Regions from separate parts of the Homo sapiens genome. Here all the other regions are linked to region 2. Evidence: promoter capture Hi-C in human tissues and cell types (Jung and others, 2019). All regions are on one chromosome and are shown on one strand. The core of a region is centred on a gene start or on the middle of the fragment in contact, and the rest is flanking DNA. Distances in the headings are between cores, read along the strand shown. Region 1 overlaps PGM2L1 (phosphoglucomutase 2 like 1). Region 2 holds the start of UCP2 (uncoupling protein 2). Region 3 overlaps PGM2L1 (phosphoglucomutase 2 like 1). Region 4 has its middle 12 kb from the start of MIR548AL. Region 5 overlaps RAB6A (RAB6A, member RAS oncogene family). Region 6 overlaps P4HA3 (prolyl 4-hydroxylase subunit alpha 3).

What was found. Contacts are between HindIII fragments. The study calls those that stand out against the background at their distance.
Region 1: a contact is called between a fragment that was not itself captured here and the fragment with the promoter of UCP2 in region 2, in 1 of the 25 tissues and cell types used here (adrenal gland).
Region 3: a contact is called between a fragment that was not itself captured here and the fragment with the promoter of UCP2 in region 2, in 2 of the 25 tissues and cell types used here (IMR-90 fibroblasts and aorta).
Region 4: a contact is called between a fragment that was not itself captured here and the fragment with the promoter of UCP2 in region 2, in 1 of the 25 tissues and cell types used here (lymphoblastoid cells).
Region 5: a contact is called between a fragment that was not itself captured here and the fragment with the promoter of UCP2 in region 2, in 1 of the 25 tissues and cell types used here (dorsolateral prefrontal cortex).
Region 6: a fragment that was not itself captured here is called in contact with the fragment with the promoter of UCP2 in region 2 in 2 of the 25 tissues and cell types used here (dorsolateral prefrontal cortex and heart left ventricle).

Annotation. Positions count from the first base shown.
Region 1 is chr11:74,387,963-74,392,277 of GRCh38, forward strand. All of the region lies in intron 1 of PGM2L1 (phosphoglucomutase 2 like 1), which reads right to left. Among named protein-coding and RNA genes, the nearest start is that of PGM2L1, 8.3 kb to the right of the region's middle. The HindIII fragment of the contact is 9,021 bases long and covers 1-4,315 here.
Region 2 is chr11:73,979,916-73,984,162 of GRCh38, forward strand. It overlaps UCP2 (uncoupling protein 2), which reads right to left and starts at 2,928. Exons shown (of 8, transcript NM_003355.3): 1 at 2,806-2,928; 2 at 1,561-1,717. RefSeq lists enhancers at 454-513, 3,765-4,247 and silencers at 2,839-3,048, 3,349-3,508. The HindIII fragment of the contact is 13,644 bases long and covers 1-4,247 here.
Region 3 is chr11:74,346,122-74,350,269 of GRCh38, forward strand. It overlaps PGM2L1 (phosphoglucomutase 2 like 1), which reads right to left. Exons shown (of 14, transcript NM_173582.6): 7 at 1,027-1,216; 8 at 611-708. The region is part of intron 2 of LOC112268078 (a long non-coding RNA gene); the gene reads left to right. Among named protein-coding and RNA genes, the nearest start is that of P4HA3, 37 kb to the left of the region's middle. The HindIII fragment of the contact is 6,314 bases long and covers 1-4,148 here.
Region 4 is chr11:74,408,748-74,413,231 of GRCh38, forward strand. No RefSeq gene overlaps it. Among named protein-coding and RNA genes, the nearest start is that of MIR548AL, 12 kb to the left of the region's middle. RefSeq lists an enhancer at 3,792-4,484. The HindIII fragment of the contact is 6,636 bases long and covers 1-4,484 here.
Region 5 is chr11:73,717,313-73,721,864 of GRCh38, forward strand. It overlaps RAB6A (RAB6A, member RAS oncogene family), which reads right to left. Exons shown (of 8, transcript NM_198896.2): 3 at 3,534-3,587; 4 at 1,301-1,406. Among named protein-coding and RNA genes, the nearest start is that of RAB6A, 41 kb to the right of the region's middle. The HindIII fragment of the contact is 4,090 bases long and covers 911-4,552 here.
Region 6 is chr11:74,300,941-74,305,392 of GRCh38, forward strand. P4HA3 (prolyl 4-hydroxylase subunit alpha 3) reads right to left here. Exons shown (of 13, transcript NM_182904.5): 2 at 3,330-3,472; 3 at 1,429-1,652. Among named protein-coding and RNA genes, the nearest start is that of P4HA3-AS1, 8.2 kb to the right of the region's middle. The HindIII fragment of the contact is 6,663 bases long and covers 1-4,452 here.

The sequences.
Region 1 (4,315 bases), core at 930-3,429, 410 kb after region 2:
ATGCAGTTTTGCTTTAACTCTTTTTTTACATATATGGCATCAAATTGTACATGTTGTTCTATAACTTGCTTATTTCATGTATATCTTGCACAGAGGGCCAAATACTGCATGATTTCACTTATATGAGGTATCTAAAATAGTCAAATTCATAGAATTAAAGAGTGGAATGATGGTTGCCAGATGCTGGAAGGGAAGGAGGAATGGAGAGTTGCTAAGCAAGAGGCATAAAGTTGCAGTTAAGCCAGATGAATTCATTATAGAGATATGCTGTGCAGCACTGTACCTACAGTTAACCATACTATATTGAATACTGGAAAATCTGTTAAGAGGGTAAATCTCATGCTAAGTGTTCTTAATATGATAAAATAAAATTAAAAAAAATATAAACCTATACACCTATGTATCTATATCTCTCTTTATATCTATATATCTTGGAGGTCCTTTTAATACATATAGAGCCATGCTATTCTTTTCACTCCAGAGTGTTCCAGTTTATGTCACCATTTATTTATTCATGGACACTTAGGCTTTTCCCTCATTTTTACCTATATAAATAATGAAATATTTCAGAGAGAAAATGACGTGAAAAAATTCTGAAGCAGAAACACAACATAAAACCATTACTTACGTTAAAGAGGTTTTCTAACAAGGTAGACATTAAAATGTCTTTGAATCAGAGAGATATGGTATTTTTCATTTACCATATTATAGTCTTCATACTCTTTAAGGCATTAAATATGACCATTTCCATTGTTTTGTTTGGTAAGATACACTCCTCATTAAATGACTTGGTGTAAAAGATCTCATGAGGATTGGTGACACTATCTCACTGCCTTCCTGTCTATTCTTCACCAGCATAGAACATTTTCTCCATTAACTCCCGATACTAGAGGGCAGCAGCCTCAGTACTAATTAGTAGTAATGCAGACCACAGTTGACTAATGAAAACAATACTCCTTCAGTAAAATCTGCACTAAATTACTAATCAACCTTTTATTTTGAGGGAAAATATTTCTAAAAAGCCAAACAGACATAAATTAGGTAAAAACAGGTTTCTCCATGAGACAAGCCAATTGTGCTGTCTCTCCAAAAGGAAGGATGAAAGAATTCTGATTTAGATTATCCAGGGATTATCATTGAAATCTAAGCTAATGTAACCAGGTGTGATGGCTTGTGCCTGTAGTCCCAGCCACTCCGGAAACTGAGGTGGGAGGATCACTTGAGCCCAGGAGGCTGCAGTGAGCTATGATCACACTGCACTCTAGCCTAGGTGACAGGGTGAGACCCTGTTTCTCTACAAAACAAAACAAAACAAAAACCCTGAGCTAATGAAATATAATAAGATGTATATTCTTTTGTTAATTCAATGTATCTCACAAGTAAAACCTGGAAGAATCAAATGATGATAAATTCCTTTTTATTAGATTATCCATATTCTTTGATTTTTTTAAATAAGAGGAGAGGAAGAGACAGGAAAAATACTTTTTTAAAAATTTATTTTTTTTGAGATGGAGTCTCGCTCTGTCACCCAGGCTGGAGTGCAGTGGCGCGATCTTGGCTCACTGCAGCCTCCGCCTCCCGGGTTCCAGTGATTCTCCTGCCTGTCTCCTGGGTAGCTGGGATTACAGGCAAGTGCCATCACGCCCAGCTAATTTTTTGTATTTTTAACAGAGATGGGGGTTTCACCATGTTGGCCAGGCTGGTCTCGAACTCCTGACCTCAGGTGATCCGCCTGCCTTGGCCTCCCAAAGTGCTAGGATTACAGACGTGAGCCACTGCGCCCGACCGGGAAAATAATTTTAGATCAAAGACATATCCGAATAGGTTTCTAACGGCCTTGTAGAAAACTTGAAGGAACTGGCCGGGTGCGGTGGCTCACGCCTGTAATCCCAGCACTTTGTGAGGCCGAGGCGGGCGGATCACGAGGTCAGGATATCGAGACCATCCTGGCTAACATGGTGAAACCCCGTCCCTACTAAAAATACAAAAAAAAAAAAAAAAAAAAAATTAGCCAGGCGTGGTGACGGGCGCCTGTAGTCCCAGCTACTCGGGAGGCTGAGGCAGGAGAATGGCGTGAACCCGGGAGGCAGAGCTTGCAGTGAGCCGAGATTGCGCCACTGCACTCCAGCCTGGGCGACAGAGCGAGACTCCGTCTCAAAAAAAAAAAAAGAAAACTTGAAGGAAGTAAACAAACAGCTTTTATGAAAGAAAAAAAAAAAAACAGGGCAAAGAAGTCCCCCAAATAACAAACAGAAGTGCTAGTCTACCTATTTTGAAAACTGTCAGGTGAGACAGGAAGAGCTTTCAAATATGAATCACTCCTTTTCAAATATATCTATGGAAAAATTACTACACTGTGTAGTTTTTCCACACCATCTTCTTTCAGTAAGCAATCTACATTTAAGGTTTCTTCATCTTTTCACAGCTTGATAGCTCATCTCTTTTTGTGGCTTGACAGCTAATTTGTTTTAATCACTGAATAATATTTGATATGCAACAGTTTGCTTATTCATTCACCTATTGAAGGACATCTTAGCTGTTTTCAGTTTCAAGTACATTTTTAATTTGAAGAAATAAAAGTATAAAGATTTTTGGGTCAAGATGAAAGACTTAAACACTTGTCTCCCCTCCCTGAGAACTTATTACAGTGATAGTAAAGGAACGAAAGGACTAAACCTACAATGTAAAAAGAACTGGAGGAAGGGATCAGTGGGTACTGAAGAGTAGATGCAATTTCCACGTACAAAAAGTAGCATGAAACAAAGTGCAATAAGCCCAAACCCAAAATAACTTGATAACATGTACATTTTGTTCTATAATCAAAATGAAATCTTGTCTTCAACATGGATGAACTATGAAGACATTATGCTAAGTGAAATAAGCTAGTCATAGAAAGACAAATATTGTATGATGCCACTTATATGAGGTACCTAGATTAGTCAAATTCATAGAAACAGAAAGCAGAATGGTGGGTGCTAGAGGCTTAGGGGACGAAGAAATGGGGAGTTATTTAATGGGTACAGAAATTCAGTTTAGCAAGATGAAAAAGTTCTGGAGATCTGTTTTTCTTTCCTTAAGATCCATCAATTAATTGTTCAAAATGATGCCCCATTTTAGTTGGCTTCATTTTTAGACCATAACTTAACTTACTCAGCTTTGTCTTTCCTTGCTTATTTGGGTCCTTCATTCTTTCCTTCCCTCCCTCCCTTCCTACTTTCTTCCTGTTTTCCTCCTCCCTCCCTCCCTTCCTTGGGTAACTGCTTTTTCTTTTCTGTTCTTTTTTTTTTTAATGTTGTTGACCAGAAACAACACGCCATCTTCACCATATTACTAACATCTTCCAGCTTTTTACTATTTATGGCATAGATGCTGAATTCTTTTTCAAGATATATTTCTGGAACCCCAGTGTGGATCAGTACACTATTTTCATCTAGGATTTCTTTACATTGGATTTCTGGGGAAGTTACTCCACATCAACTTCCTCATATTTCCTATTTCCTTTTGCTATGTTTCCTCAACTTTAACGTCTATATTTTCTATTGCATTTGGCAGGGGTGGGGTGTAACGTTTTTTTCTTAATTTCCAAGAGCTCATTATTGTTTCCTGTTCCTTTTTCATAGCATATTTCCTTATTTGATGGAATAATTGTCTTATTTAATCAAAAAACATTAAGTTCTTGTGTTCCCTGACTTAACTCAGTTTTTTTCCTGTATCCATTGCTTTACTTATTTTTCATGCAGCTTATTTCCTTTTTATAGTTTGATCGTTAGTTAGTTATTAACATCAATAGATTTTTAGCCGCTGGTACCCAACATTCTGTTTTCTGTTTCTGTGTATTTGACTACGCTAGGTACCTTATATAAGCTGGTATGGGTTTTCTCTGTTTTCATGTATACAATATGTTTTCTGCCAGTCTCCTCTTAAATAGAATGGCCAGTTGGAAGCCCTGTTTGTTAGTTGCACTTATTGTCCTGCAAACTTTGCTAGCATTAATTATATTGTTTAAACTTTTGAAATAACTAATGCTAATAGCATAACTATCAAAATTTAGGAGACATAGAGAATAGTGAGTGAATTCCCATTTTTTATAGCACAGGGATATATTTGACAGATAATATCTAAAGCTTTAAAATACATCAAGAAATAGTGCTTCTAGTATATTACTTAGTCTTTTCATGGTAACCACAAAAATAACTAAAAAGAAACTTAAAATGACTTATAAGGAGCAAACTGAGGAAAAGAAGAGGCAGTTAGGATCATTGTTTTCCATTATAATCCCTTCTGTACTATTTTTTAAAATCATAAGCATGTATTT
Region 2 (4,247 bases), core at 1,678-4,177:
TTAGACTCCTCCTGGCCTACCATGTGATGCAGAGAAAACTGCTCTCCTTTTTGTTTGGGCCAGTTTCCTTTCCTCCAACTTAGGGGGATCCGCACTTACACCACAAGACAGGCAGGGATGAGGGGTCCAGGTCAGAGCTGTGAAGAGTGATAAAGTAAACCAAAAGCCCCATTTTGTTCTGAGTTGGAACCACACCCTCCTCCACTGCCCCAGGAGGAAGTGAGCCCAGCACCCTAGTGGGGGAGGGTGACCTGCTTCTTCCCCTGAGCTTATTTCTTTGACTTCATTGGAGCAGCTGCTTTGAGCCCCGCCTGACTGCCTTTGTTGCTGGGGCTCAGGTGAAAGGGCTGGCTGGTGAAGGGAGTCAGCTGTGAACACAGAGACCCATGGAAACAAACAGCTCACCCAGCTTCCTCTTGGGCTTCTCACTCCAGGTGGCTGGGGCAAGCAGGGAAATGAAGATACTCACCATAGCAACTACACTGGGACCTATAGAACAGGGCCTGACCTTATTCCTGTTTCCCTCCAGCTTGCCCACGAGGCTCAGTGAAGACTGGTGCTCAAATGACAGATTGGGTTGATGAAGGTGCCCTCGGACTCCCCAGATTCCCTGCTCTGACACCCCCTTCCCCCAGGAGGTGCTCCACAACTTTCCCCACCCCAACGCCCAGGGCACTGTATTAGCTCAATCCTCAGAGCAGCCCTGCAAGGTGGCTGCCCTTATTTCCATGTGAGATGAGTAAGAGCCACACTTACAGGCACCAAAGCTGGTAGTATTTGCTTTGCACTGCTGCCCAGCTCCTCAGTTCGTTCTTGCTGTTTTATCAGCCCCAGGCACAGACAGGGCCTTTCACAAGGAAAGTTCTCACAGGCTGATTAAACAGTACTGAGAAGGCTCAGGCAAATGGTATCCCTTCTCTGGGCATCAGAGATATGATGACATGAGTCTGTCACATTCCTGACCTTGAGCTGGGTTGCAGGATGTTGTGAAGGCCAGAGAAGAATAAGACCCAGCTGCTGCCCAAAGACAAGTGCACAGAGGTTCAGCTGCCATATTCTGAATGTTGCCTTGGGCTTGCCAAGTCAGGTCCTTCAGAGGGTGGGTAAGATGGCCCTACTAACAGCAATTAAAATGCAGGACTAGAAATAGTTAATCCTATTTTACAGTCCCCAGCAAATAACCAGTTTCAGAGCCGGGCTGATTACCAATCTCGGTTTCAGGGATAGTCAAAAGCTAGCATCAATATGAAGTTAGAACAATAGGTTCCTGTCCTAGCTCTTCTGCTGGCTCCCGGGATGACTTGGGGCCAATCACTGTTACACGTGGGCCTCAGTTTTCTCCTTTATAAAATGGGGACCAAGATCCTTGGCTTGTCCGAGTCAGCTGAAGGGCCAGAATGAGAGCGGGGAGGTGTGAGAGTGCTCTGTGAACTGGAAAGAGCCACTTCACTGTCGGGGGTGGGGATGGTAATTATTTTTGTTAATGCCCTGCTGACTCCTGCCCCTAGACCACAGGGTTAGGAGGCAGCAAGAGACCTCTTCCTTGGACTGGACTCTTACCCGGCTTTGTAAGGTCTCACGGTGAGGCCTCCAAGATCAAGCTTCTCTAAAGGTGTCCCGTTCTTCAAAGCTGCCAGTGGCTATCATGGCCCGATCCCCTTGGTTTTCCATAGAAAATGGGTGGGAGACGAAACACCTAATGGTCATACTATGTGTCCTGTGGGTGAGCAAAGGCAGAGAGTTTAGAAAGGGCCACCTGCCCCAAGACACACAAGCCCACCCAATCCATGCCTTGGAGGGGGATGGGGAACAGGGCCCAGGGACTGGTTAAGTGCACACACTGGAAAGGGGAAAAGCAGGGCGGAAAATGAACCTAGGTACACTCCCCACCCCCACCCCACCTGCTTAATATCACAAATTGGTTCTCATCCAGACTTCTGCTTTTGTAACACTCAGTACTCTATATAAGCACCCCCTAGCACAGTCATCAGACTTTGGTGAGTGGGAGAGTTGTGAGGGGGTCACGATGGGACAGAGACTCTCCGGGAATTGGCTAGGTCCCAGGTCGGGCTGTGAGGAGGTTGGAAGGGCTGGGAGCCGGCCCTGCAGAGGCCAGATTGAGCAGCTCAAAGCCCACTAGAAAAAGCCCCCAAGCCCTGGGAAAGGCGGTGCAGGAACACTGCCTGGAGCTGCCTGGTAAGGGAGAGGTCATTGTGGTCATCGCTGATGGTCCCCATCCAAGGCAGGGCTCGGCATCGTGGTGGAAAGGAGGGAGTGAAAAGGTGGAGGCTCAAACGACAGCCAACTGAACGGGAGAGGGAAAGAACAAAAGGGACTAAGAAAAAGAGAGAAGAGAAATAAAGAACCAAGGACAGAAAGGATTAGCACAGGCCGGACCCGGAGGCTCATGCCTAAAATTCTAGGACTTTGTGAGGCCGAGGCGGGCGGATTGCTTGAGCTCAGCAGTTCGAGGCCAGCCTGGCCAACATGGCGAAACCCCATCTCTACAAAACACAAAAATTAGCCAGGCGTGGTGGCGGGCGCCTGTAATCCCAGCTACTCGGCAGGCGGATCGCTTGAACCTGGGAGGTGGAGGCTGCAGTGAGCCGAGATCGCGCCACTGCACTCCAGCCTGGGAGACAGAGCGAAAGCCTGTCTCAAACAAACAAACAAAAACAAAAAATAAAACCGAGAGAAAGAAAAGAGTACAAACTTGGGTGGGAGAGAAGGTAAATGGAAGAGCGGGCAGCGCACGCAGAACAAGCGTGGGGGGCGCAAAGGGCGCAGGGCTGGGGCCAGGCTCACCGAGCCGCAGGGAGAACACGGCAGTGCGTGCGGCTGTGTCTGTCGGCTGGCGGAGGGCGCGTCGGACGAGCCGGGCGAGCGTGGACAGTCAATCCCAAGGCGCGCGCAGCTGGGCTTCGCAGTGGGGCTCCGCGCAGGCGGCGGCGCGGCTTAAGCCTCGGGGGCGGGGCCCGGGGTGGGGCCTGCGGGGCGGGGCCGGGCCTGCCAGCTCCTACTTGGGTGCGGAGACCCTGGAGCAGCCGCCTTTCCGCGGGGACCGCCCCGCCTAGGGTTCTCTCCATGACTTTCTCCACTCCCGTTTCCGTGCGTCCCATCACCGCGTTTACTCCTTCGTTCCCCGAGATGGTCACTCCCTTGCCACTCCCCGCCTCTGCCTCACACTCTCTCGGGCCGCCAACCTCTGTGAGGATGGCAAGACTGACCGCCAGAAACAAGTCTTGTCCAGTCACACACCTCTTGCCTTCCCAGCCAGGACGGTTTCTAACAGCGTCCAGCGGGGCCGTGTCTTAAGTGCACTTCCTCTTTTATGGGCCCAGCCCCCCTACGCTGGGCAAACTACCCACCCTCCTGCGAGCGAGCGCGCGGCTGGCTCCTGCAGGGCGGGACTGGGGCCTCGCGACCGGCCTCGCTGTCGATTGGTTACAGCCGCCGCGTTGTCGGGGGAAGGAACCAATCAGAACTGCAGCAACAGGTGGCCCGGCAACCGACAACAGCCGTTGGGCTCGGCTGGGGTTCGCGCCTTCTCCCCCGGTGGAGCGGCCTGGCGTTTAGGGACCAGGACACTAAAGGCCCCGGCGGGGCGGGAGCACCCAGCGTGACCTCACGCTCCTACACACAGACAAGCAAACGGGCCGGCCCCCGCACGTGACAAGGCAGAGCCGGGCCCAGGCCAGCTGCCTGTCCAGCCCTGGGATGAGAAAAGGCGTCAGGAGATGGACCGGGCCTGGTTCGCCTTTAATTGGCTGACCCGTCCTGTGGGGGTAACTGACGCGTGAACAGCCAACAATTGGGCCCTCTGGCCGGGACAAACACGTGCGTTTGGGGAGTAGAAGAAGGCTGGTATTAACCTCCATTTTACAATGAGGAAACGGAGTCCCAAAGACGTTCAGTCATCTTCCTGATATTCACACACTTACACCCTGGTCAGGCCGGCGCCATATGTGTTTTCACCAGCAGAAGGGACTGCCAGGGAACAGCTGAGGGGACCAGAGCTGGGATGGGCCTGGATAATTATAGCGGAAAGAAAAACACGCCGAGCGCATGGTCCTGGCAGAAGCAGCGTGGAAACAGAAGTCAAGGCAGATTATTTCTGCCATGAGGAGATCTTGCCATGTAGGAAAAAAGAAAGAAAGAGAGGAAAGAAAGACAGAGAGAGAGAGAGGAAAGACAGAAAGACAAGAAAGAAAGAGAAAGAAAGAAAAGAAAAAAAAAAAGAAAAGATA
Region 3 (4,148 bases), core at 1,309-3,808, 370 kb after region 2:
GGCATGGTGGCACATGCCTGTAGTCCCAGCTACTTAGGAGGCTGAGGCAGGAGAATAGCTTGAACCTGGGAGGCAGAGGCTGCAGTGAGCCAAGATAGCACCATTGCACTCCACTCCAGCCTAAGCAACAAGAGCGAAACTATGTCTCCAAAAAAAAAAAAAAAAAAAAAAAAAAGCAAACAAACAAAAAAAAAGGTTAGGAAATAACTACATCATAAAGCGATCTGTTGGGATATTATGTCTTTGTAAAAATTAATATTTTCAAAAAATGTATAAAGTCAGGGGAAAATGCTTACACTGTAAGCATTATACTTAACCATTACACTGTAAGCAGTTTTTGAAGCATTTTGTACAATTAATGTGGAAAATAATCAAGATATAAAACTATGATCATAATTTAATAAAAACAAATACATCTTTAAATATTTCAATTTAAAAGACAGGAAAGAATTATCAAAGTATCAACTTAGGTGGTTATTTTGGGATAATGGATTTACAGGAAATTTATGTTCTTTTCTTATCTTTTCATTATTTTCAATGAGCCTGTAAGACTTAAAATACATTGCTTTTCAAAGTTCAAGCTTTTAATCAAATAACAGATTCTACATACTTCTCCTGAAGTTCTGCTGCTGCCAGTCTGTCTGCATCAGGATCTGTGGCTAGCACTACCCGGGCATTTTCTTTCTCTGCCAGTCTCAAGGAAAGTTCCTGAAACAGTGACCCAAAAAGCTGGATTGTACTGAAGAACCTAAGTTCAATGTTAACGTTCCTGTATGTAGGCACAATGTTAGTGATAGGAATTTTAGAAGGCATAGAATTCAGCTACGTTTAAAACAAGAAGCCAAAAGTAGGGACACCCACCATAGACATTTCAAACAAAACACAGCCTATTATTACTCCAATACAATTAAAAGATGTAAACTACAGTCCTTTCTGCTTTTGTAAGTAATCTTTGAATTGTCAATGAGTTCTATCTATTCTGATGGTTTAATAAACTAATAATAATTTAAATATTTAAAAAAATACCAGCACAGATTCTCCTTCTTCAGGATTTGGACATTTAACGGTAGAAAAGTCTGGATCAGGATCTTTTTGTTCTGGTACTGGAATTGGAGGCTTAAAACCAAACACTTTAAAAGCCAACTGCACATAGTCATGTCCGACCCCATGAAAAGATGTGTGCACAAATTTCAAGGTGGTCTTCGAGTTTAACTCCCTGTAAAGGAAAATCAACATAAGATCATGATTACAAAACCTCTTACCTTTGATATAATTAAAAACAATCAAATTCTGATTTGAAAATGTGATTAAATGTGATTTAAGCCTTCAGCAGAGGTCTAAGATATTCAAACAAACAAATCAAGAGTACTAACTTAAAGATCAAGAGTTTTAATTCAACAGCATTCTCCCTTTGTGGCTCAACTTCCTGACCTGGACAGCTGCCTTCCATATGCTGTGCCAATACCCTGAACAAGCTAAGCTTGTATCATCTAAGTAAATATTATCTCTCACTAGACCATCACAAACACTTCCTAACTGGTCTTTCTCGCTTGCCAGTAGACCCCTCGTTTCTTCACTTCCAGTTTAGATTGCAAAGTACCTAATTACACTCACCTTCTTATATGTCAGTCTGGCTACTTTGACCCTCCAATACCCCAAATCTTGTTGAACCCAAATGTGTTCCTTTTCCAGGCTTGCACCAAAATAGTTGAATATTGCTAGAATAAATCTCACAAAAGGATTGAACAGCTTCACTCTGAATGGACACCCAATGCTGCCAGGCAATCCTACTTTGTTACCCAAAAAGCTTACTTTTTTACTCTCCAAGATGGTGACTTAATTAGTACCTTCTCTTCTCTCCTTATTCCTTTCCTCCCCCTTCATCTCATACATCACTCAGACACAGAGCCATTTGATGGGAACTTCCTAATCGTCCCACACCAAACCGACAACCCATATTTTTTCCTTCTTCCATCTGATAATAACGAGGAGGTGTTCTTTGTATCAAAGGTCAACCCCTCTACTTCTGCTCTGGTCCCCATCAATTCTCACTTGAGAACTTTAGTACATGGATAATTCTCTCTCGCCGGCATCATTTCCATTAGCATCTAGTCTCTGTTTCTTTGGTCTTTTCCACAGCAAAACTTTGTACATCCTAACCTACCATTTACTAACTATTCCCCATAAAAAATACAATTTATTATAAGATAAATAATAAAAATAAAGTTATGACAATTTTCAAACATATGCATAGGAAGACAGAATATCTAACACCATATACCCATTACCTCACTTCAATATGTTTCCATTGTCTGTCAATCTAGTCTCATTTATTCAAGATATATTACTTTACATGAAAATGCTTTAGTATTTAGAAACATAACCATATTACCATCATTACATCTAACAAAATCAACAATAATTTCTTTCCTCTAATACCGTATCTGTGTTCAAATTTTCCCCAAGTGTCTCAAAAATACTTTTAACAGTTGTTTTACTTGAAGCAGGACCTGAACGAGGTTCCATATAATTTGACTGCTATGCCTCTCAAGTCTCTTTTAATCTGTAAATGTTCCTCCCTTCCTTCCCCAACCCAAATGTCATTTATTGAAGAAACTGGCCCATTTGTCCTGTAGAATTTCCTGTATCTCCAGTATGTAGACTGCATCCTTTTGGTATTAACATGCTCTTCTATCCTATTTTTTCTGTAAATAGGCAACTGCATTTAGAGGTAACATTAGATTCAGTTTCAATTCTTTGGGCAAGAATAGGTGCTGTGTATTTTCTATTGACTCACAGGTGGAAGCACACAATTTCTACTCTACTTTTAATGCTGTCAAACTAAGATTCACCAGTGTCAGCCTAATCCTTCCATCAAAATATTTCCCATCAACATTTCACCTATGGGTCTTAGCAGCCCTTGATAAGAATTACTTAGATATATTATTTATTAGAGGTCACAACATAGTGATTTTGAAAATTCTGTTATTTCTTCTGCATTTATTGTATTTTTCTTTTAAAAATAATGATCCTTCATCAACCATTTGATTAGCCCTAAAATTCAGTTCATATAGAAAAGGCAGAACAAATTAAGAGAAAGTTTCAAACATTTATTGATTTTCAGAAGGAAAATTTAGAATTTATCAAATTTCAGCCTGTGTGATTTTCAGTCCAGCAACTCCCAAAGGTGACCAATAAACTGCTTTTTTAGTATTACTAACAGTCATGGGCTTTTTAGGTTTAATGTTTTAATTCATTGAGGTGATTATTCTTTTTGATGCCCAACTATCCAATATTTGGTCAGTGGGAGTCCCTTCAAGTTGGCTCCCAGATCTTTTTGATATGACCCCAGTATCTTTGAAAGCTAGCCTGCTTCATGGCAAGGAAAACAAAGTTATCTCAGCCTCATTTAGTACATTTTCTGCCCCACTCCTTGATAAGAATCAATTTCTCCAATGAGCCCTGGTTCCTTTTACTAGGAAATGGTATTTAGAAACCACAGTCTGGGCTTTAGGGGTAGGCATTGGCCTTTTTAGTAACAGAACTAGTATTTTGGTATTTTAGGTAAATAAAACATATTTCAAATTCAAATTTAAAATTATAATTTTAAAATTATTTTATTTGATTTTACATTCACTTCTCTTAAACTAAAATCTTAGATCCTAGTGACATTAACATAATTACCCATTTGTTTTATCATATATATGTGTATGTCTATATATTTATTTATATCTACATCTGTAAAATCATCAATATTACCACTAACAGTACAGCTATCAAATAAAATTTGAGGTTTCTTTGTAGTTCTTTATCCTTAGGACATATCCCACTAGAAATACATAGTCAATAACTGTAAAGTCACTTGAAATAATTCTTCTCTGTGTAATTATGCCTTCAGCTTGATAAATAGTTAGGTTCACTTGTTAATTTGCTTTTGCCCATATACTCTTTAAAAAACAAAAATGTAAATAAGAAAAGACAGAAAGGATAAAAAAGGAATCAAATTCTTTTTAGATTGATTAGAGCTGGTAGCATTTAGCTAGTATTACTGTCACTTATTTTAGACGGAGAAGCAAACAGTTGACAGCTTGATGGGTATACTTTTGAAATTAAAATAAAGTTGAGAAAAAGCTAAAATTATTTTGTAG
Region 4 (4,484 bases), core at 728-3,227, 430 kb after region 2:
ACTAATGTCTTATGAATCAAATTGTGTGATCTTCATCTTTTTAGTTCCGTCATAGTAATATTAATATTTTTAAAGACCAAGTCCAATAAACCAGTCTTGGTCACCTGATTAAGCAGTTCTCAAGCAGAAAATGAACCTTTATGAGTTTTCTTTTAAAATATTAACTCTTTTATGTAAAGTATTTAAGTTCAATTTAATGTGGCAAATACTTGTATGTCTGTCATGTTACATCTTTCTAGGTGTTTCAGATTCAGGATAAACAAGATAGACAAGCCTTGTTCCTGCCCTTAAGAAGCCCAGGACGAGGAATACAGACAAATAACACATTATTGAAATGCCCTGATAAGTGCTTTTCATAGATAATACTATGGAATTACAGAGGAGGGGCACTTAATCCAGACTGGGAGGGGCATAAAAGGTATCCTTGAAGAAATCATAGCTAAACTTGGTAAGTCTTGAACTTGGGTGGCCTGCGTTCTCCAACTTTGTCCTTATTTTTCAAGATTCTTTGGGTTTTCTAGGTCCTTTGCGTTTCCATATAAATTTTAGAATAAACTTGTTAATTTCTACCAAAAAAAAGCCTGCTAGGATTATGATTGAGATTATGTTAACTCCCTAGATCAATTTAGAATTAATTGACATCTTTAGAATACTGAGTTTTCCAATCCATGAAAATGATCTATGTCTCTAATTTAAGAAGACTTTTAATTTCTCTCAGCAATGTTAATGTAGGTTTCAGTGCAGAGGTCTTATAAGTCTTTGACGTATTCCTAAACATTTTGTTTTTTTATGCACATGTAAATAGTTTTATTTTTATAGTTTAACTTGGAACTGAAGAACAAATAGGAGTTAGGAAAAAGGAATATGGCATGCTAGGCAAAGGAAACAAAACAAGAAGGATATTTGTGTGCTGAGAGCTCAATATTACAAATGTCTGCTACAAACCTCTTTTATCATGCTGACATGGAAGAAATATTGCTGAGGTGAGTAACAAAAACAACAAAGAAGGCATATTCTTCTTTTTGAATTCCAGGGTCTACAACTATACACCTAATAATACTATCTAGTAGTATCTATTAGATTGATATGATTATCTAATAATAGAGCAATAATAACTAATAAGTTGCTAAGTTAGTTTAAGCCCTTTCAGGGCAGAATAAAGTTGGAGAATTTACACCATCTGACTTCAAGACTTATAAATATGCAGCAATTCAGTGTGCAGTATTAGTATTAGGATAGACAAATAGATCAATGGAACGGACTATTTCTGCGGGCCCAGAAGTAGACCCACATTCATTTGATTTTCAACAAAAGCATCAAAGCAAGCCAATGAGAAATGGAAAATTCCTTCAACAGGTGATATTGAAAAAACAGAATATACATCTGGAAAAATATCAACCTCAACCTGTATCTCACACCAAATATAAAAATTAATTTTAGCCTGGGCTGAGTGGCTCAGGTAATCCCAGAACTTTGGGAGGCCAAGGCAGGAGGATCACTTGAGACCAGGAGTTCAAGACCATCCTGGGCAACATAGCAAGACACTCTCTACAAAAAAATCTAAAAATATATATATATATTAGCTGGGCCTGGTGGTGCACCTGTAGTCCTAGCTACTCAGGAGGCTGAGGCAGGAGGATTGCTTGAGCCCAGGAGTTTCAGGCTGCAGTGAGCTATGATTGATTGTGCCACTGTACTCCAGCCTGGGTGACAGAGTAAGATCTCATTTCTAAAAAAAATAAATAAAATAAAATAAAAAAATAAAGCTATACAGCTTCTAGAAGAAAACCAAGTAGAATATATTTGCAACTTGGGAATAGGTAAAGATTTCTTAGGATAGAGAAAGCATTAATCACAAAAATATAAAATTGATAAATTAGTTGTCATCAAAATTAACAACTTCTGCTTATCAAAAGACAGTCTTAAGAATCTAATTTGGTAAGCTATAGGTTAGGAGAAATTGTTTTCAAAATATATATCTGATAAAGAAGTAGTATCCAGAATATATATAGAATTCCTATAACACAATAATAAAAAGACAAAAACGAACCCAAAAAATCTACCGTTTTTTAAACTGCAAATGACAACACAAACTTAATCTAGCTTAAGTAGAAAATTGAGTTTTGGTACAACAATGTGAATGTACTTAATGCCACTGAACTATACACTTATTTTCAAATATCTATTTTTATATATAATTCAAAATTTAAAAAATTAAATGTCTTGGCATATGTACTGAGAAAGTCAGGAGTGGAGCCAGCTTCAGGGACCCCTGGATCCTGACATAAGGACTCTGTCTTCACCTTTCAGCTCCACTTCTGTTTCCTCCCAACCTCCCTTACTTATTTTTCAAAATAAGACAGTTGTGACTACATAGAGCTCTAGGCAAACATCACCCCAGCTAGCAACCCCAAAAAGAAAGACAAGATTTATCTCGCTGCTTCAGTAGATATAAATTTCAAGGAATAATTGGCCCAGATCGGGTTATGAGCCCACTACCCCTAAGGCCATGCCAGGAGGGTAATATGTTGAACCACCCCATAAAAATCACATAAAATGAATAGTTAAGGAACCTTTCCCCAAAGGAAGAGCAGGGTTCTGTCACTGGGAGATGAAGAAAAGGGATGCTAAACAACCAAACAAACAGATCCCTTTAATAATGACTTGTTATCTATTCCTTGACTTTAAACAAATTATTTACCATCTGCCAGTCATTTTTCTCAATTCTTTCTGAAAAAAAAGATCATTTATTTATTCAGCAACTTTATATTGTGCACCTACTGTTGTGCTATGCACTGTTCTAGGGATGAGAGAGAAGAATGGTAAATAGACAAAGTTCTGGTACTCTTGTAGCATGAATGATTTTCCCACTTATAAAAGCAGTATTTGCCAGCTCCACATCTTGGCATTTCCAAACATCACCAGTAAAGAAACTTTTTTTCTCTGTTGAAAGAAAAAGTTAAGTCTACTACATTTGGAAGGTCAAAAATAACCTTTCACTTTTAGGGAAAAAGTATTCTGTACCTAGAGCCACTTAATATATGTGTGTCATTCTAAACTTTGATTTCTCCAGTTTTTGTTCATTTTCTTTTCTCTCTGTTTTTTTTTTTTTGTTTTTTTTTTTTGAAACGGAGTCTTGCTCTGTCCAGCCCAGGCTGGAGTGCAGTGGCGGGATCACGGCTCACTGCAACGTCCGCCTCCTGGATTCAAGGGATTCTCCTGCCTCAGCCTCTCTAGTAGCTGGGATTACAGGCCCCCGCCACCACACCTGGCTAATTTTTGTATTTTTAGTAGAGACGGGGTTTCACCATCTTGGCCAGGAGCTCTGGAACTCCTGACCTCGTGATCCACCCGCCTTGGCCTCCCAAAGTGCTGGAATTACATTCGTGAGCCACTGCCCCCAGCCCATTTTCTTTTCTGCATACCTGATAGCTCATTTTGAAATTGTTGCTTTCTATTTTATTAAATGTCTGTGTTTGTGGATGCTAGATGACTATACTATGCTGTTGTAGGTTATCTTGCTTTCCTATAATTCTTGTGTGTTTGTGTGTGTGTTCTATTTATTCAATAAAAGAACTGGTAGCCTGTAGTCAATTTTCTATCCCTAATAGTTTTTCATTTTCTGATGAAATCCAAGATCGCTTTTTTATTATAATGTGTAGAAGACATGGCATATTGTAGACAAAGGGAAATTGAATCTGCTGGAACCAGCTCTTGGTGAGAAACTATGATTTGATGATGATGTTATATCCTCAGCTAAACGCTGGAAATTTTCTAGGATTAGAAGAAAATGACTCATTCTGGACTTGCAACAGGGAAAAAACTACATTATTTGGTAAGGTGAGGACTAAAAGATATGATTTTCTGTGGATTTTATTGTTTAAAAATACTATGCAAATCATAACTTGGAACAAGTTATAATATACTCATATATACATAGATATGGGTATAGATATAGATAGTATTTATACACATATGAGTTTTATCTTTACTTTTTCTGCCCACCCTTTAGTTAGGAATATTAGTGAGGAGTGAAATGACCAAAAGTATGTATCAATCTTGATAGCATTCAGCTGCATGTGACTAAAACAAAACTAAGCGGCTTAACAAAGAGATGTTCATTTTCTTTTCCAAATAACAAGAAGTCCCAGGGAAGGCAGACCAAGCGTAGGTAGTCAAAGACGTCATCAAGCACCCAGCCTCCTTTTATCTTTCTGCTCTTTCTTCCTTAACGTGGTTCTCACCCTCATAGTCAAAAGATGACTGTGCCACATTCCACATTGTACCTGAATTCTAGGCAAGAGGAAGGGGGAAGGGCAAAGGGCAAAAAGTTCACTTCAGCCAAGTTCGCCTGCGCCCCTTCTTAAAATGAGGAAAGCAGCTGCCGCTTTCCCACGCTCCGCCCCGCTCTGCACCCCCCGTAGACTTTTTCTTACATCTCACTGGCCAGAACTGTGTCCTATAACCACTCCTGGGAAATCAAG
Region 5 (4,552 bases), core at 1,706-4,205, 260 kb before region 2:
AAGATTTTTTTTAGCCCAAGATACTACATCTGTGTAGTGTGGTACACATTTTTTAAAAATTTAAAAAGAAAGCCCCAGATACTGGGCTGGGCACAATGGTTCATGCCTGTAACCCTAGCACTTTAGTTTTTGTTGTTGTTGTTGTAGTTGAGACAGAGTTTTGTTCTTGTTGCCCAGGCTGGAGTGCAATGGCACGGTCTTGGCTCACTGCAACCTCCGCCTCCCAGGTTCAAGAGGTTTTCCTGCCTCAGTCTCTCAAGTAGCTGGGATTACAGGCATGCACCACCACACCTGGCTAATTTTGCATTTTTAGTAGAGATGGAGTTTCATCACGTTGGTCAGGCTGGTCTCAAACTCCTGACCTCAGGTGATCCGCCTGCCTTGGCCACCCAAAATATGGGGATTTCCGGCGTGAGCCACTGTGCCCGGCCTAAACCTAGCACTTTAGAAGGCTGAGGCAGGAGGATCACTTGAACCCAGGAGTTCAAGACCCTGGTTTTCCTATAAGTTATGAACCACTACATGTAATAATGTTTAATATTGCCTAATATATGTCATAAACCAATTTACAAAGGCAATTTCAATCAGAAAGCATTTTCTTGTCAGTCACCAATGCTTCATGGAAAATTTACAATCACTTAAAAGGCCACAGGCATTATTCAATCTTTAGAAAAAAGAAAAAGACTACTAGTTGTTTCACCTCCTATTTAAAATTTTTTTCTTGGAGAGAAATGAAAGTGTAATTTGTTAGCAACAAAGTAAATAAATCAGTCACAGAACCAAAATATGATTCAAATAAAAAAGATTAATAGAAAACTGTACATTATGTTTTCTCTGTCTTCCTCTACAGAGAGAGAATGGCTGGAAGGGGAAAGCAGAGAAAAGCTGGCTAGCAGAAGCTTGTAATAGCCTCAATAGAAAGCTTGGAGGATTTGGAAAACCTGGCAAGAGACTTAAATGCAGATCATTTTATTTTAGAGAAATCTGAGATCAAGGAAACATTCCTCCAACTATAATTATGGTATGGTTTACGAATAACAGGATACTAAGAAACCCTTGAAGAGGATTCATAGTTGGACCCAAAAGAAAATTTCTGGGGCAAAAAACCTGGCACAGTTACATATAAAGCATATTGGTATAAACACCAAAGCAAATATTTCTGACCTGGCTGGTATGTAATTTACTATGATAAAACTTATTTTTACATGCCAGTAAGGAAAACAAGCACAAGACAAGAACATGCATGCAGCTAAGCTAAAGGTTGAAAGAAGATTAGAAATGCATAATTCCCTCCACTCACTTGTGATATCATAAACAACAACTGCCACAGTGGAGTCACGAATGTAGCTAGGAATCAAGCTCCTGAACCGCTCTTGACCTGCTGTGTCCCATAATTGCAATCGTACCTAACAACAAAATCAGTCAAACAAGCAAGAAAAATAAGAAAGGTCAACCCGTTGCAATATACCTACTTGTGATATCGTAAACTACTACAGCTGCAGCAGAATCACGGATGTAACTGGGAATGAGGCTACGGAAACGTTCCTGACCCGCAGTATCCCACAGCTGAAGCCTGATCTGTGAGATGGGAAAAAATAAATAAAAAAAAAAAAACCAAACTAATACTAAAAAGAAAAAAGAAACAATGTTTTTTGTAAAAGGGAGAGGGTGGGAAGGAAGTAGAAAGAAGACTCATGCAAGAGGTTGCAGGGAGTGAGGAATGAAAATAACACAAAACTCCTTTTTCAAAAGGGAGAAATATTAAAAATTTGCATACTCCAAACATAAATGACTGGAAAATGCCACTGGGAAAAATTTCACAGAATCAGAAATATGGCTTCCCTTTTTCCCTACCTAAAACCTGTTTGAATCCCTATGCCTTTCAAGTGGCAAAAAGTAGACTGTTGATGGTTAAATAGAGAAAAAAACAAAACAAAACAAAAAAACCTAAGGTAAATGTCAATGAGCAGCCTAAGCTATCAGAGTAAAGGAATTAATGCTTCTTTGAAAGCTTCTCTCAAGCTAAAATGTGTCTCTTTCCTATTGGGTCTAGAATACTTTCAAACCTGTTTTTTAACTACCGTGCTTGTATTTCTCCCATACATTTTCCCCAGAACATGCGAGTGTGTGCGCGCACGCATGCACGCGTGTGTGTGTATAATGTAACAAAAAGGAGGAAGATCTTTTTGCAGCCCTACATAAAAATGTCTTTACGTACTATCCATATCTATATTACAGGAAGAAAAGCCTGAAAACAAGTATCAAGTTCTTGCATCATGATAAAGTCGTTTCCAAGCTTTCAAATTTTTTTTTTTTTTTTTAGACAGACTCTCATTCTTGTCGCTCAGGCTGAAGTGCAGTGGTGTGATCTCGGCTCACTGCAACCTCTGCCTCCCGGGTTCAAACGATTCTCCTGCCTCAGCCTCCCGAGTAGCTGGGATTACAGGCGCCCGCCACCACGCCCAGCTAATTTTTGTATTTTTAGAAAAGATGGGGTTTCGCCATGTTGGCCAGGCTGGTCTTCAACTCCTGACCTCAGGTGATCTGTCCATCCTGGCCTCCCAAAGTGCTGGGATTACAGGCGTGAGCCACCACACCTGGCCGCTTTCAAATTTTAAGAAATGACATGCTATATATCAAAACATAAAAGAGAATATTCAGGAAAAAAAAAACACCTAAGAAATAACACTGGAAATTAAATAATGTTTTTGGGTGCAGGTCTCAAAGTACTGCATTTAAGATATTCACTGTTTAGGTGACAAGTATCTCTTCAAGGGGTAGTGGGCTAGAATACAGATTTTACACTGTATTTAAAGAAAACATTCCAAAGGATGAAAGACAAAAATCCAACAAATAAATACACATTACTTTTTTTTTTTTTTTTTGCAACGGAGTTTCGCTCTTGTTGCCCAGGCTAGAGTGCAATGGCGCAATCTCAGCTCACTGCAACCTCTGCATCCTGGATTCAAGCGATTCTCCTGCCTCAGCCTCCCAAGTAGCTGGGATTATAGGCGCCCGCCACCACGCCTGGCTAATTTTTTGTATTTTTAATAGAGATGGGGTTTCATCATGTTGGCCAAGCTGGTCTCAAACTCCTGACCTCAGATGATCCACCTGCCTCAGCCTCCCAAAGTGCTGGGATTACAGGTGTGAGCCACCGCACCCTGCCCACATAACTTCTTTTTTGTCAGTCACTTTGATACGCATCCTATCCTGACAAAAAAAATCTTGAAGTTCACAAATTGAAATCTTTTTGAATGCCTCAAGGGTGGCATTTAGAAGGTCTTTAGCAGGTTTAATTTCTTCATAAAAATTCTCCTTTAATTCTCTGTAAAGCTCTTTGTTTTCATTTTTCCAAATCAAGATGACTGCCAAGTACTACTCACTCGGTAATAAGAGTTTTTCTCAACAACTGTAAACTATCTTTGGTAACTTTGCTAAGTACTTCTTATGGTGACAATCATTGATAACTTTGATTGCAGTTTTCTAACCTGGAATGTTGCAGAAAATTGCACACTGAAAATATTACTCACTGTTCGATCCTCCAAGTACATAGTTTTTGATAAAAAGTCAATGCCAATTGTTGCCTGTAAAACAAAACAAAGAAGTTAACAAATAATAAGTTTAATGGTGGCCAGCAGTTTAGGATTCAAATGGGATTCATGATTGTGGAAGAAATAATGAATAAACAAATCAATACAACATAGTCAATTAAGGACAATTAAGGACAAACAAAATTTCCAGTGATAATGATTTTCATGTATTCAGCACTTGCTTCATATCAGAGATTGTTTTAAGCCTTTTACATGATCATCTCTAATCTTTATACATTCCTGCCAGGTAGCTTATTCTCATCCCTACTTTTCTCATTTTACAAATAACAAGACAATGGCAACTTTGGTTTAAATATTTGTATTTGAACTTTAGTTTGAGTATCTGATTGTTCTCCACTCAGAATGGTAAGTATCTGCCCCAAGAGCAGTTTTATAAAATACTGTTGATATATTGTCAACTGTCCTAATGCCATAGACAGCCAGAGACTCACAAACATCATAACTTTCCATAAGAGACATGATTTTTCCAATATAAAATAAAAGTCATTAGGTAAGGAAAACAAGTTTTCCTCTGTACCACACAATGATAGCTTCCTTCTGTGGTGAAAACAAATGTAAAGTTCTATTGCCTGGCTGCTGTTTTCCCTATCAAGAGAAAATGGTGAAATAATAAGAGAATAGAAAGAAGGCAGACTACAAAAAAGAAAGGAAAAAAAGTATACAAGTTAAAAAACAGTCCAGTATTAATTAGGGGAGATAAATAAAAAGAATGGAAGAAAGACAGACTCCAGAAAGAGGATGTTGATATGGACTCTATTTTAGAAGTTTTACCACCTCATTAATGTTTGTGTGCACATATACTATGTATATATGTGCGTGTACATACATACTTTTTCCCTAAATATCTTTGTGCCATATTCCTTAAAACAGAAACTGAGTCTGTGCATTTTAAAATATGAGTCACTAAGAATTTTAAGTTCCTAAAAAACAATCAAAAA
Region 6 (4,452 bases), core at 363-2,862, 320 kb after region 2:
AAGAAATAAACTACTAACAAATGATACAATATGGATGAATTCCACAGATACAATGTGCTGAATGAAAGAAGCTGGACTTAAAAGGGCACATACTATATGGTTCAGGATCGCTGCTACCTGGGCAAGGGTGGAGCAGAAGGGATGGGGGGTGGCGAGGAGGATGAGTGGGGTTTTAGCTGTATGTAACATGTTTTTTTTTCTAATATATATTTTTAAAAATGAAACAAACATAGCAAAATTTGAACATATATTCATTACAATAATAGATATAATTGCTTGTTATATTATTTTATGTTCTTTTCTTATATTTGAAAAGTTTTCTCTCTCAAAATAAGTGAATAAATATAGAAAGAAAGATTGCCAGTAAGACTTCCAGGAAGTGACTTACTAAATTTTCAACATACGGTTTTACTTTCAGAAAGGCCTCACTAATATGTTAGTACCATACATTAAACTACTTTACCTGGCTTAAATTTAAATCAGCCATGAACATGATGATTGAGCTCTGATTCCACTCAGGATCCCAGAAAAGAGAAAACAGTATGTAGAGAGACTCAAGCAGCCTACTCTGCCTTAATTTGGAAGACTGACTCCCAAAACTTGGAATCAGGACACATGAGACCCACTCCCAGATCTGTTGATGAATACTGTAGGAGTCAGGAAAAATACACCTTACTGCAATAAACATCTTCAAAGTTAAAATGGATTTGCTCCATTGCTTTTTATAGCAAAGGCTGGCAAAGAGTATATTACAAAATGATCTCACGTGTGATTACAACTTATAATCAAAGATCAGTTAAATACCTCAGATGGGGGGCGGGGGTGTTCCTGAAGTCTATTTCCTCAAGTAATGTTAAAGTGAATGGCCTTAGATTTTGGACACTACTTTAATTTTGTACTTCCAAATGCTTAGGAAATGTTGCATTGGATTCCAGAAAGTCTCAGGAGGCTGTTTCCGTGATCTTACCTTTCCATCACCATCTCTTATCCTTTTCCCCAACCTTGCGTCCCTGACCCCCTGCTTTCCCTTTCTACCCAGGAGTTCATGCACTGGCAGGGTGCTATAGTTAGGGTGAACAAAGGACCATTTTTCCTAGTTCATGTCTGTTGTTCTAGCATAATTAATAACACCCCTTTCAATCTCAAGAGTGTTCTAAGTATATAAACACCTTAACTACTATGGAAAGGGCCTGAGATTTGGAGTCAAAAGACTGGGTTCAAGCTTTAGTTCTGCCCTTAAAATTGCATAATCTTAGGGCAAGTTATTTACCCTCTCTGAATCTTGTTTTCTTTCTCTGAAAATGGAAATGATATCAAATTTCCAAGTTTACTGTAAGTATTAAAAAGAAGTAAAATCAATCGGTACATAGTTATTTTATCCATAAGAAACCAGAGCCAAGCAATTGGCCCTCTCTTGAATATTGTTACCTTGCCAACTTGGAAGCAGTCATCCCCTGTGAGAGAAAAGAGCCGTTTGGGGCTGTACAGGTCAGTGATGGCAGAGCCAGTGACTCTCTGAAAGACACCTCGGGCCAGGCCTTTCACATTGAGCATGTACACGTCCTGCAGCCGCATCAGGGCCCTTGCTGCTCCCTCAAGGTCCTCAAAGGCTGGAAGGTCTTGCTCCACCTTCTCATAGCCATCCTTCAGAGCTGTAAAAGTAGTAAAAACATCAACCCAGCATTCAAGAAACAGGAGTTGGGCATTTAATACATGTAAGGCATGACCACCTGTTCAAATATTTAATGACATCAAGTTGGATTTGTCTTTGTGTTCCCAGAGGCAAGCACAGTTCCTGGCACAGGGTGGATGCTTAATGCAATTCTGAATGAGGAACATTCAGAATGAGTGAATGAGGAATAAAAATTAAGGCATACAGCTTCATTATATTGTCCTATCCTGTATGTTTACAGGAGTCTCACTCTTTAGGGAGACAACTCTTCTTTTTCTTTTTCTTTTTTTCTTTTTCTTTTCTTTTCTTTTTTTCTCTTCTCTCCTCTTTTCTTTCTTTTCTTTCTTTCTTTTAATAGAGATAGGATCTTGTTCTGTTGCCTAGGCTGGAGCACACTGGCATGATCATAGCTCACTATAATCTTGAATTCCTGGGCTCAAGTGAGCCTCTCACCTCAGCCTTCTGAGTAGGCAGGACTTCAGGCACACGCCATCACATCCATCTAATTTAAATAAATTTTTTTGTAGAGACAGGGTCTTGCTATGTTGCCCAGGCTGGTCTCAAACTTCTGGCCTCAAGTGATCCTTCCAACTCAAGCTCCCAAAGTGTTGAGATTATTGGCATGAGCAACCACACCCAGACTCTTCTCACTGTTAGCTTTCCAAAAATCAACAAACTTCTTTTTTTTTTTTTTTTTTTTGAGACAGGGTCTTGCTCAGTCGCCCAGGCTAGAGAGCAGTGGCGCAATCTCAGCTCACTGCAACCTCCACCTTCTGGGTTCAAGCAATTCTTGTGCCTCAGCTTCCCAAGTCTACAGGCATGCGCCACCATGCCTGGCTAATTTTTGTTATTTTTAATAGGTTTCGCTATATTGCCCAGGCTAGTCTCGAACTCCTGAGCTCAAGCAATCTTAGCCTCCCAAAGTGCTGGGATTACAGGCATGAACCACTGTGCCCAGCCCAAAAGTCAACACTTTTTTTTTTTTTGAGACAAAGTCTCGCTCTGTCACCCCAGGCTGGAGTGCAGTGGTGCGATCTTGGCTCACTGCAACCTCTGCCTCCCGGATTCAAGCAATTCTCCTGCCTCAGCTCCCGAGTAGCTGGGATTACAGGCATGTAATCCCACGACTCCCCGGTAATTTTTGTATTTTTGATAGCGACAGGGTTTCACTATGTTGGTTAGGCTGGTCTGGAACTCCTGACCTCAAGTGATCAGCCCACCTCAGCCTCCCAAAGTGCTGCAATACAGGTGTGAGCCACCGCGCCTGGCCGTCAACAAACTTCTTACAGCACAAAGTAGAATAAATTAGGAAAGTGATCTTGCTATAGATGACACTGTAGTGACAATTTAATGAAACAGAAACTACTAGAAGACCGTTATTTTCTATACATATATAAATGGAAGGCTTGTACTTTGTCACAGGATTGTAGTGAACATCAAATGAGACAATTGATATGAAAGTGCTTTCTAAGGTATAATCATATAAACTGATTAGCAAGCGGGCCTAATTCTTTGTGCTAGCTAGAGCTAAGGATATTAAGTAATACCCACCTACTCCATTACCCTTTGAAATCACATCCCAACAGAATCTCTCTCCTTACCACCGAGTCAGGAGATAGAATCTTCTCTCTTACCCTCCAGCCCTCCTCCTCATTACCTCGGATGTTCTCACTGGCCTCCAGACTATGTACCACATTCCTCCAGTCAGACTGCAGGCGTTTGATGAGAGTAAATGCAAGCAGAGGGTTAGCCACAGGGGTTGTTGAATCCTCATGCAAAGAAAGTACCTTGTCGTAGAATCTGAAAGAAAGGAGTAGAATGATCTCACCTCCTGATACAACCACTACACCTAGGGAAGGCTGGCATGGTGTGTGTACATTAAGAGTAGCTAACACTGACATGCTGAACCTCTTGAGATTCACATAATAGTCCAACCAAAAAGCCATGCAAGCCCAAAGAATATGAAAACTATAGATACAACAAAAGTAGGTCCACTCTTTTGTTCACTGAATGAGTCAGTCTATATTAATCAATTACTGTATTTCAGGCACCATGCTAGAGATATAAAGGCAAGACAGGGTCCAGCTCTCAAAGGGATCACAAAGTCTTTTTCTCCTGTCATCACTGTATATGCAATACTTAGTATCTGGTAGAAACTCAAAAACACTATTGAATTAATTATAACCACTGTGATATGTGCTATATAGTGGTCCCCAACCTTTTTGGCACCAGGGACTAGTTTCATGGAAAACAATTTTTTCCACGGACCGGGGGGTTGGGGGATGGTTTCGGGATGAAACTGTTCCACCTCAGATCATCAGGTACCAGTTAGATTCCTATAAGGAGCACACAACCTAGATCCCTCACATGTGCAGTTCACAATAAGGTTCACGCTCCTATGAGAATCTAATGCCGTGGCTGATCTGACAGGAGGTGGAGCTCAAAGAGTAATGCTCCCTTGCCCACCACTCACCTCCTGCTGGGGGGCCCGCCTCCTAACAGGCCATGGACTGGTACCGGTCCCTGGCCCAGGGGTTGGGGACCTCTCTGCTATGAGAGAAGTGAGCATATAATGCTGCAGCTGTGCAGGCAGGGCAGCTCATCCAGGTGGGAGTTAGAAGGGGGAAGGAAAGGCTTCCAAGAAGAGATGGCATGTGATCTGAATCTTGAATGATTTGTTAAAATACTGAAAGCTATTACTTATTGAGCTCCTACCATGTATTGGCCTGTTGGGTGCTCTAAATAGATTGTCTCATTTAATTACCCCCCACCTTCCAACC